Linked DNA regions of Homo sapiens: region 2 is linked to region 1. The links are contacts of gene promoters, found by promoter capture Hi-C in blood cells and fetal thymus (Javierre and others, 2016). All regions are on one chromosome and are shown on one strand. Each heading gives the region's core, a stretch centred on a gene start or on the middle of the fragment in contact. The rest is flanking DNA. Distances are from core to core; before and after follow the strand shown. Region 1 holds the start of SHROOM1 (shroom family member 1). Region 2 overlaps SLC22A5 (solute carrier family 22 member 5).

Region 1 (5,199 bases), core at 2,035-4,534:
AGATTACAAGTGCCAAACTATGTGGAGTGGAGGCCCACCACCTCCCCACCTATCAGCTCCTTGATATAGGGCCTGGCCAGGAACAGCAAGGTCTGTGGCTCTAATCCCAGCTAAACACAGCCATCTAAGGGTCTCTTCAAAAGAACTCCCCCAGGCCTGAGAAAGTATTGAGATACTGAAGGGTGCAGACACCTCTCTTTATGTATTGGAAGCATATGTGCATGTTTCCACCCTCTCCATGCACACTCACCCCCCAACCACCATCACTAAGGGAGACTCCAGCTTTGTGGCAGTTTCTTCCCCCTTCTCTTCTCCAAGATTCTCTGTGCTTTTGTAATAATGAGATAGGAAGTATCAGTGCCCCCTAGCCAAAGACCACCACGAGCACACCTGTAGTTGAACAAGTTGGGTTCATTGCTTGTTGAAGTGAGAGAGGACACGTAGCATGGGAAACCACGTGGCATCTCAGGAAGAGAGCATTGGAAAGGACTTAGAGGATCTGGGTTTGGGTTAGTGCTTTTCAAGAGGGTTAAAGAAGCAGAACTTTCCTTTGTGCTGGATGCTGTCAAGAAGCAAGAGTAATTCTATGATTGGGTATATTAATAAATCTTATCTAGAAAGAGGAATGATTAGAGTGAGGCTAAAGCTGCAATTGGTAAAGAAGCAGCAGGTACTCACATTAGCTAGGACAGCAGGCACTCATTAGCTAGGTCATTTTTGTGACTTGGACAATGTTCATGCTTTTGTATGTGTTAGACATGATTAGAGTGCTGTTGTTTTTGTCTTGATCCATCATTGTTAAAGAACGGCCCTGTCTCACATTGATGCCCTGTGAAATGGCTTATGTCCAATGGGACAACAGTAAGGCCTTGCTGTGAATGTCAGGTCAAATTCTGGCAACACCAAGGTCCAGCTGGGCCTTTCAGATGTTAGGGGTTACTTTTCTCTTTCTCAGAACAGAAGAGGTTAAGAGAGACGTGGGTAGGTGGGATTTCAGTTTTCTGGGGACTTAGGCAGAGAGTTGCTTAGTGTGTGCAAGAGGTGAGCGGTAGGTGGGTGGAGTGGGTTAATAAGAATCGCTCTGGACTGCATCCTCATGGTCCCTAGCAGAGAGTTGCTTAGTGTGTGCAAGAGGTGAGTGGTAGGTGGGTGGAGTGGGTTAATAAGAATCGCTCTGGACTGCGTCCTCATGGTCCCTAGCAGAGAGGTGCTGTAGTGTGTGCAAGAGGTGAGTGGTAGGTGGGTGGAGTGGGTTAATAGAATTGTTCTGGACACTGTGTCCCCATAGTTTTCAAGAAATATAAGTAAAAAACATAACCATTTTTTTTTTTTTTGAGACAGAATCTCACTCTGTTGCCCAGGCTGGAATGAAGTAGCGTGATCTCGGCAGACTGCAGCCTATGCCTCCTCGGTTCAAGCGATTCTTGTGCCTAGGCCTTCCAAGTAGCTGGGACTACAGGTGCGTGCCACCACGTCCAGCTATTTTTTTTTGTATTTTTGTAGAGACAGGGCTTCGCCATGTTGCCGAGGCTGGTCTCGAACTCCTGAGCTCAAGCAATCTGCCCACCTTGGCCTCCCAAAGTGCTGGGATTACAGGCATGAGCCACCGCCCCAGCCAACATGAGCAATTAAAAATTTTTTGTTGTTGTTTGCTGGGCTGTCTTTCTTCTATTTTGATGCTGCTGTGAGACTCTGTGGATCAGGGTCTTAAAAATATTAAAAGTCTTTCAGGCCGGGTGCGGTAGCTCATGCCTGTAATCCAGCACTTTGGGAGGCCAAGGTGGGTGGATCACCTGAGGTCACGAGTTTGAGACCAGCCTGGCCAACATGGCGAACCCCGTCTTTACTAAAAATACAAAAATTAGCTGGGCGTGGTGCCCGGTGCCTGTAATCCCAGCTACTTGGGAGGCTGAGGCAGGGAAAATTGCTTGAACCTGGGAGGCGCAGGTTTCAGTGAGCAGAGATCCGGCCACTGCACTCCAGCCTGGGCGACAGAGGGAGACTCTGTCTCAAAAAAGCAAAACAAACAACAAAAGTCTTTCAAAGCCGAAAGGTTCTTAGGCACTGTCTTAAAGCCTAGCGCTCCAGCTGAAGCTGGTGCCTGAGTCCAGATGGTGTTGAAGAAGGAGCAGGGCCCAGCGGGCACCACTCTCAGAAGTCGGGCTCAGGTGTCTCCTGCCTCCGAACCCAAGAAGACCCAAGAAGACAGAGTTCCTCAGGCTCCCAGTGTCCCTAGGAAGTGGCAACCTTGACTCTTGGCCAGAGTTCAGAGTCCTGGTTATTAACACCAATAAACCTTTATTTGCCAGGGATACTACCATGGGAGGACACAGCCCCTGAGCCCAGCCCTGTTGATCCTGTGGGAGCGGGAGGGCAGCGGAGGACAAAGGCAGAGACCTGAGAGCCGGAGAGGCTCATCAAAGGGTCCCCAGCCCCTCTCAGGAACGGAGCATTTCTTGGCAGAGTGGTATTCATAGGACAGAGTTTGGGAAGTCGGGGCAGGGGAGCCTGAGGACACAGCAAGGAGAGCTCAGTGGCAGGTGCAGGCAGAGCGTTCTTTGGAAAATGGAGATCCTGGAAGGTGAGGGCCTCGAGCGCCAGTGTCCAGCCTTAGTGGGTATGCATATGTCCAGCTCCCTAAGGACACACTCAGGACAGCTAAGGTGCACACAAGTCCAGGGGCTTCCCCGTGCTCCGCCCCCCTCTCCCCCACCCCGGTAGCAGGCTGGAGGGCCCAGACCATGCTGGGTAGTGGGAGAAATGGAAAGAAATGGGACAGGGAACAGGAGACAAGAGCCCATGGTGGGAGTCAAAGAGCTGGAAGAGTTTTGGAAATGGGGGTCTGGGGGTAGAGTTGATCAAGGGCCGAGTTACTCAGCGGGACAGGTGGGAGGCACGAGGCCCTGGCAGCTCTGTTTTCTTGGCCGGGCTTGGGGGGGAAAGCGGGTAGCCGTCAGGCGCCTAAGGGCCCGCCCTGGACCTCCCCACCGAGGGAGGTGTCAGGCCCCGAGGGACCCGGCCCCCGAGCATCACGGACGCGCTGGAGGCCGGTGGGCGGTCGCCGTAGTCGCCCTCCCACCACCTCGCTCAGGTTTCTCCGGCCTGGGGCAAGAGGCCTGTGGCCCGCGCGGGAACGCACTGTCCACCCTCAGACCTGGGACTGGGCCGGCGCGCGGACGCTACCAAGAGGCTGCGGCTCCCGCCCCCGCGGCCGGACGTGGCGCCTCCCCTGAGGCCGCGGCCGGAGCCTGGAGGTGGGGTCGGAGTCAGAGCCCGGGGCTCTGATGTCACCGCGCGGCTGCGACGGCCCAGGAGCGCGTCTCGGCGGGAGCCTCAGGTACGCGGCGGGGGCGGGGGAGCGGGAAGCGGGCGGCTGGGTCCGCTTCCCCCGGGAGGCCGGCGGGGCTGCGGGCGGACGGGGGTGAAGAGCGGGCGGCGAGGCGGTGGTCGCGGGGCAGCCCGGGCATCGTTCGGCCGGGACGTGTCTGGCTCGGCGCCGCGTCAGGTTGCGCCAGTGGAGTCGGACCCCAGCGCGCCTCTCCCAGCTGCAGAGCTGCAGGGCGGAGAGGCGGCCCACTCTAAGCTGGCGGCGCGGCTCAGGGGCGCGGCTGGGCGCGCCGCGTGTGGCGCCGGCGGGCAGCGCGGTCTCACTCCGCCACCCTCCGCTCCTGCCCTTTGTCGCCAAGCATCTGGAGAAGCCGGGTCCTTCCCTCCCGGGCTCGCGCTGTCCCCTGCGCGCGATCCTTCCCCGACGGTGAACCCAACGGGAAAGGCCCAGAACTGCGCGGGGCTGCGGCCATCTGCTGTCGAGCCGCTCCGCGTGTCTCTGCCGCCCCCTGCGGCCGCCGGGGCCTGCGCCTCTCTCCCTCCCGTGCCTCGGCTCCCAGAGATTGAACCCCAGGTAACCGGGTCTGTCCACGCCCGCGGCCGCCTCTCCCCGGGTGTCGCCAGCTTCCTGCATTTCCTGTGCATGGCACGGAGCTCGGGTCTCCAGAGACTCTGCATCTGGGGTGCAGCGACCGATGAGCCCGTAAACCAGTCGCACACTCGGAGCGTGGATGCTGCGTGGGGTGCGCTGTCAGCGCGGACAGGCTGGGAGAACGGGGGACGCTGGGGACAGGGAGAGCCGGTGAACTTCCCAGAACGTCCGCCTAGCCAGACCCAGCTGCGGGTACTGGGTTTTGAGACGTGGTCCAGTACCCAGGAACTCAGTCTGACAGGGAGACAGCGCCTACACAGTGAGCCCAGTACTGAGGGAAGACCCGCTGGGAGGGGCGGCCTGGATAGCCCCTCCACAGAGAGGTCAGATGTGAGGTGGCCTTGAGGGAGGTATGATGTAAATCCTGATCATTCGTTGTATTTGAGGCTGTCCGTTCTCCTGTGCCTCCTCGGTCGCCTTACTTGGATCTGTTCCCATTGCCTTGGTGTGATTTTATCCACCGGAAACTGTCTTCAGCTATTTCCCCAGTAACCTCTAACTAAAAACCTGGGTCTTGCCTGGTCTACCCTCCCCTGCTGAACTCCAGAGCCACATCCCAACTGCTGCCTGACTTGTCACAGACACCATGAAGCCCAGACTGAAGGAGCACTGGCCCCCTTGACAATTCCTCAGCCCCAGCTCCTCCTTTCAGACTGGTGCCTCCACCTGCCAGACCCCTAGCTTTGAAGGCCAATCTCATCTTCGTCTCCTTCCTCTCTGGCTCCTTCATTCAGGTGACAAGTATACATCAAATGCCCACCCCAACTCCCCCTCCCAGGACTCCAATCTGGTGTCTTTCTAGCGGGGAGTCTAGGTTGCTCCCTCTGCTCTGGAGAGGCTTGGCAAAATGCCTGCAGAGCTCCTTGAGCTCCACCTCTGAACTCCCTTTCAGCAGCCGGCACAGGCATAACAGCCCAGCCCACAGGTACCACTGCCACTGAGGCAGGGACCCCTAAGGTAGGGCTACCCCCAGCCACAGGGGCTGGCTGGACTGCAAGAGGCTCCCTGCAGCCAGACAAGTATGAAAATGCCTTGTTGTTTTGTGCTGAGGCCCCCCAAAACACACCAAAGCAGCTGGGCCCTCTTGGCATGGTAGGTTCTGCAAAGCACCCACTGTGAGGAGCCTGCGTGAACATCAACCTGATAGGGCCACCAGTGCAAAAGCATCTTCAACAAGTTACAGTCAATAAGGAAACACATGTGTAGACACATTTTTATTG
Region 2 (5,359 bases), core at 2,839-5,338, 440 kb after region 1:
ATTGCATCAAGCCTCTATCAGCCTAAAAGCCCTTTAGGAAAAGAATTAAAAGACAAACCCCCAGAAGAAAGTTCTATTGTGCTATTTACTACCTGGCAGGGAATAGGGTCTTGTGCCCACCTCATTGACCGTCACTTAGACCAGGTATTAAGCAGAATAATTCTCTTTGACAAACAACAGCCTTATGGAATCCATGAGAATGTTCAGGGAACCCTGACAGAGATAAGAACTAGTTTCCAAGAATAGGAAAAGATGGTATGGCAAATCTTTGCCTTTACTTTGATCTGTGGCAGGAAACTGGTTTTTAAGAAAATCTGGGTTGTTCCTCCACCTCCTTTTCTTTGTCTTTTATATTTCTGTGGGTATGCTGGTTTCTAGTTATACACATTAACTGAACACCTCATCACTCACCAACTCTGCCCCTGTGGCTACAGTTTGTGTATGCCTCTCTCCTGGAGCAGAGGAGATCCTTGGTCTGATAACACACTCAGTCTTCCCAAAGTCATGGCTCTAAGGGAAACAAGCCACACACGAATCCAACAGGCTTAGACAGAGGACTTGGAATTCCACATGCTTGGCTCAACCCTGGAAGTGACTTGGGCTCTTGCCTCACCACATGAAGAGCTCTAAGCATTCAGGTAATTATGGTTTTTGCCCTCAGAAGGCCACAAATGACTGGAATCAGTGGCATGGAGAATAAGAGAGAAAATGCAGAAACTATTCACTCCTGCTACAGGACAATGGGTAGACAGAACTGCAATTCAGATTCTAGAGCCCCTGGGAAGACAGTTAATCAGTAGTCCAGCACAGAACCATGTTTGAGGAGAGTGGAGAAGCCAACAGTGTTCCAGAAGACGTGCTGCCTTCCTTCTCCCCCAAGTTTGATGCTGCTTGTTTTGTTATGCAACATGCCCTTGAGTTTCTATCCAACACTGGAGCTTTTTACCCAGGTCCATCCACACCTTCTAGCCCAAAATGCCCTGTGCAAATTGTATATAGATTAAGACACCTCTTGTGCACCACACTCAACCCCCAATCCTCTCAGCCCACCACTTACTCCAGCCACTGTTGCAGTGACCAGTTCTGATGGGCTCTGGCAACCCCTACTTCAGCCCTGCAATGTATTCTCTCTTGCTTTCTACCCACGGGACAGAACTTATTTGGGACTCATGCATGTGCAGCCTGGAAACATGTGGAGCTGACACCTGTGGGCTGCCTTTACAAATGGATGCCAACAGAGAAATGCTTCCCCCTTTTACTCAAGGTACAGATGGTGTTGAGATGCATTTCATAAGCTTCTTCTGAAGTCCTTGCTGGATGGAGCATCCCTGCCTTTGGTGCTAGTCAACCTGAAAATGCATCTTTGTATTCAGCCTCCCTCCTTCCCTGTTCTCCTCCTGTCCTTTATTGCTGCTCCCTGGAATCTTGTCCCCAAAGCATAAACTGCTTAACTGCACAGAAGCACTTGTCTCAGTCTCTACTTTCAAGGGAACCCAAGATACATTTGTGCAAGAAGGCTGGCTCAGCCCATAGTCAATTAATAAAGTGAAGAATTCTAGTGCACAAGAATCAAATCTTAGTCTTAGAGATTAATCCCAACCATTGCTAGAATTAGCCCAAGCTGATACAGAGAAAAGGCAGATGACAGTGTGGCACAGGCTCACTAAATTCTAGAAATAAAGATTCTAGGCAGTTGCTGTTATTTAAAAAATCATTTTACTTATTAAAACTTTCTCATTTCCCAAGGCACTTCAGTAGCTTTCACAAAAACATGTTTGTTCTTTTTTAACCAGGTGAGGCATATGCTTTAGGAGTACCATGGTAACATAATCAGCAAAGAGAAGACAATTACACTGAACACAAAATATCACCCAATAAAGTTACAGGACTAAAGTGAGCTACTCTGAAAGACTATGAACACAATTTAAATTTCTTTTTTGTAATATCCTCCCATGACTAAGTATCAAGAAAGGAACACACACAATGACACTGTTTTTGGCACTTAGAGAAGTGCTAGAGGCTAGGGCTGGTAAGGCCTTGCACCAGTGGCAGCTGCAGACAATTGCCAGAGTGATTCTGTTTTAAAAAAAAAAAAAAAAAGACACAAACCAGGAGGCTAAGGAACCAGCCTTTCCCAAGTGCATTCTGAAGGGCAAATAACAAGGAGAAAAGGATACAACAACAAACAAATAAACAATAAAACAAAACCCACATTACAGCTTTGAGAGAAAAGACAACGTTGCTCATCTCTCTCACCTGATAAATTTCCTTTAAACCATACATAAGACGCTATAGTAGCAAGGAGGTTTCCACAGCAGTGGAAAACAAGAATAGTAGATTCAATGGAGCATTTATTATGAGCCTGGACAAGCCCAGTGCTTTGATCAGATGTAAACAAGTCTACTCAGTCGTCATGCTGAGTGGTCTTAAGAGCTCACACATCAGTGCACTTTGCTGGTGATCTGCATCTGCTCATTCTGCTCCATCTTCATTACCTTTCACTTTCCCTAGCTCTGCGCTCTCCTGCCCTGGGGAAGCAATGATCCAGTTAATGTCCTCTGTAACTGAGAAAAGGTAAGAATCAAACTCCTTGTGCAATTACTTCCTTTTCCTCTAAAGTTCACCACTAGAGGGGAGTGGGGAAAGGGGTGGGGGACTTAGACCTCTAGCCTTATTAGGGGCCTTTTCAAGTAGTCTAAAATTAAAATGTACATTTAGCATATGCTTCTCACATTCCTCCAGATCTCACTGGTTCTAGTGAAAAATTAACTGCTTTGGAGGTGCTGAGTCCATCATTGTAATAGTTAGGACTTAGATGAAGTTGTCTGTAGGTAGCCCCAGTGTCCCTAGAGGAAGGTGGTGCTCTAGGGCCATATGTAGCCTCTGAGTGTGGGTGCCCATCCAGGAGCAAGTCAGACACAGGTCAAGAGGACAAACAGCAAAGGCCTTTTGTCACTGAAGGACTCGGAGTCTGCACAAGCTGGCCATTTCTGGCAAGACAGTCTTTCCTCTTCAGTTTCTCCCTTACTGGAAGCGATGTTAGAAGGCTGTGCTTTTAAGGATTGTGGGCCTTTCTTGACCATCTTTTAACATCCTTGTGTGACTTGGAGTTTTTCTGTGTTTCATTCTATAAAAACAAGCAAAAATATGTCAGTAACACATTTTAAAAAGATGCCTCCCAGTCTCCAAACAAACAAGAACTGAGGATATCTTCCCTGGGAAGAGAATCCTGCAGCAGATTCTGAAAGGTTTCTTCTAGCCTCTGAGTTATCCAGTGCGGCTACTGCCATGGAGATGTGTATAGTGACATGTCCACACAGGAACAGACCAGAGAGGATGGGCTATAAGTAAGCACCTTGCCATTTACAACCCTTTAATGGCTAAACTAGTCCATGGTGTCTGTGAGAGGGAGTTTGCGAGTAGCTCTATTGTGAGGGGCTCCTGAGACCTGGCCAGACCCAGACCCAGTGCATCAACACTGACAGAGGAGGTCTTCTTACCCTTTGACTCTTAGCATCTGGTCAATGGTGTCTGGGAGTGGGGTACCGAAGCTCTCTGGGAGAAACAAGGTGAGGATGGCTGTCAGGATGGTCAGACTTCCCATGAGAATGTAGGGCAGGAAGCGGTCGTAGGCACCTATGGCAAAGCAGACGGAGCCTCAGGCCCAGGGCTGCAGTTAGACTTGGTCTCTCATCTACCCCTTTATGCTCCCAGGACTCTGGAAGGGGATCACTTTCCTTCTTGGTCTCACATCTCTCACAGTCTGAGCAGTCAGATTAGAATCTGGCATCTAGACAGGTTTCAGAACCCAGAGCTGGCACAGGCATGCCCAGAGCCCAGCAGTGTTCCACCATGCAGGGGAGGAGTACAAAGGGGCGGTTGCAGTAGAAGAGCTGGGCCATGCTGATTATTCCTATTTCTGGGCCATGCTGATTATTCTTATTTACCAAGGTTGGGTTTCCAAGGAACCTGAGGTACTTGTCCAGGGATGGAAATAACTCTTCCACCTCTGCAGATGTGTCCCAGCCCATGTGATCTGCCTTCAGATTAGGCAGGGTGCTTTTGCTTGCTTTGAGATCTACATAGCATGTTCACAAAGCACTCTGAGTACTCTCAGGTGGGTGCCACCCTCCCTAAAGAGGTACTGGCTAGGGATGTGCAGGAAACCACAGGTGCTATGAAGACATAATTCTGAGAAGAGAAAACTGGAGACCTGCTACATAAAATGGCATGGGGTGGATCTTCACACAAGATAAAATCACTCTATAGTGCTCTAGGTTATAATAATTTTCCGTTCATCAGACCTCTTGCATGGACATCTTTCCCCTCATGTTCCTTTTAAACTCTGATTCCAAGAAATTTCTCCAACTAAGCACACTGGCTCCCTAAACCACTCTGTAGGTTCTTAGGATAAAGGAATTGTAGTCTCTGATGGAAGGCCTGGGATGGCTAAAACAGAAACAAACCCTCTAATATTCTCATCAATTTCTAGGTAATCTATAGGTTGTTTTCCATTTGAAAGTGAGGGCCAGTGCACTGGGACAAGAACCCTTCCCGGCCAAAGATCCAGTACTGGATGGAGCCCATGTACTGTATGAACTTGTTTTCCTGTTAACACGCAACCTCCAGCTCACATTCAAGCCAGTTAGTACTTCCATCCCGTTGCTCTAGTGTGCCCTTGGCTCATGGGACTTACCAAGGTAAACGAAGTAGGGAGACAGGATGCTGCCCAGGCGGGATGCTGTGGAGCTGACTCCCACACCCATGTTTCTCACCACTGTGGGATACAGCTCGGCTGTGTACACGTAGACCATGGAAAAGGCAGCCGTGACTCCAAACTTGCCCACCATCACCAGGACTGTAGCCAAATAATACAAGTCTGGAGAAGCAAAGGAAAGAGGGTAGGAGTAGGTACCAACCCATGGCATGCAGCTATTGAGAGCAAAACAAACATACTTTCTTCCCAAATTTTTTGGGGAGTCAGTTTCTATCACTTCCTATTGTGGGGGAAGGGGCTATAGCCAAGATTTCCCTCCAAATTGATTGCTGAAAGGAGGCTGGGACCTGCAGCTATAAGGACATGCACTTTCCTCAACCTGGAGACCACCAGAGTAAGCTCCTTAATAGTCCAATCAACCTGCTTCCCAGTCTATAAGTCATTAAAGACATGTCTGTCAGGGATTAACTGTCACCCCAGAACCTCACACTGCAGGCACTATGGAATTAACTCATGATGTTTAGATGAATGGAGAATTCAGTTCTAACTCATTTCATGCTTTCCTCCCACTCAGACCTCAAAAAAATCATAGGCCATCAGAATCTCAAGTTGATCTTCTAATCTCTCTGTGCTGTGCTGATG

Evidence for each region. Contacts are between HindIII fragments. The CHiCAGO score rates a contact against its expected background, and 5 or more counts as called.
Region 2: a contact is called between a fragment that was not itself captured here and the fragment with the promoter of SHROOM1 in region 1, in 3 of 17 cell types (monocytes, fetal thymus and total B cells). The highest score is 8.8, in monocytes.

Annotation. Positions count from the first base shown.
Region 1 is chr5:132,828,732-132,833,930 of GRCh38, reverse strand. SHROOM1 (shroom family member 1) reads left to right here and starts at 3,284. Exons shown (of 10, transcript NM_001172700.2): 1 at 3,284-3,337. RefSeq lists silencers at 2,976-3,395, 3,606-3,915. The HindIII fragment of the contact is 14,647 bases long and covers 1-5,199 here.
Region 2 is chr5:132,391,953-132,397,311 of GRCh38, reverse strand. SLC22A5 (solute carrier family 22 member 5) reads right to left here. Exons shown (of 10, transcript NM_003060.4): 8 at 4,697-4,879; 9 at 3,501-3,636; 10 at 1,700-3,127. The coding sequence ends at 3,040. Among named protein-coding and RNA genes, the nearest start is that of CARINH, 16 kb to the left of the region's middle. The HindIII fragment of the contact is 5,582 bases long and covers 1,298-5,359 here.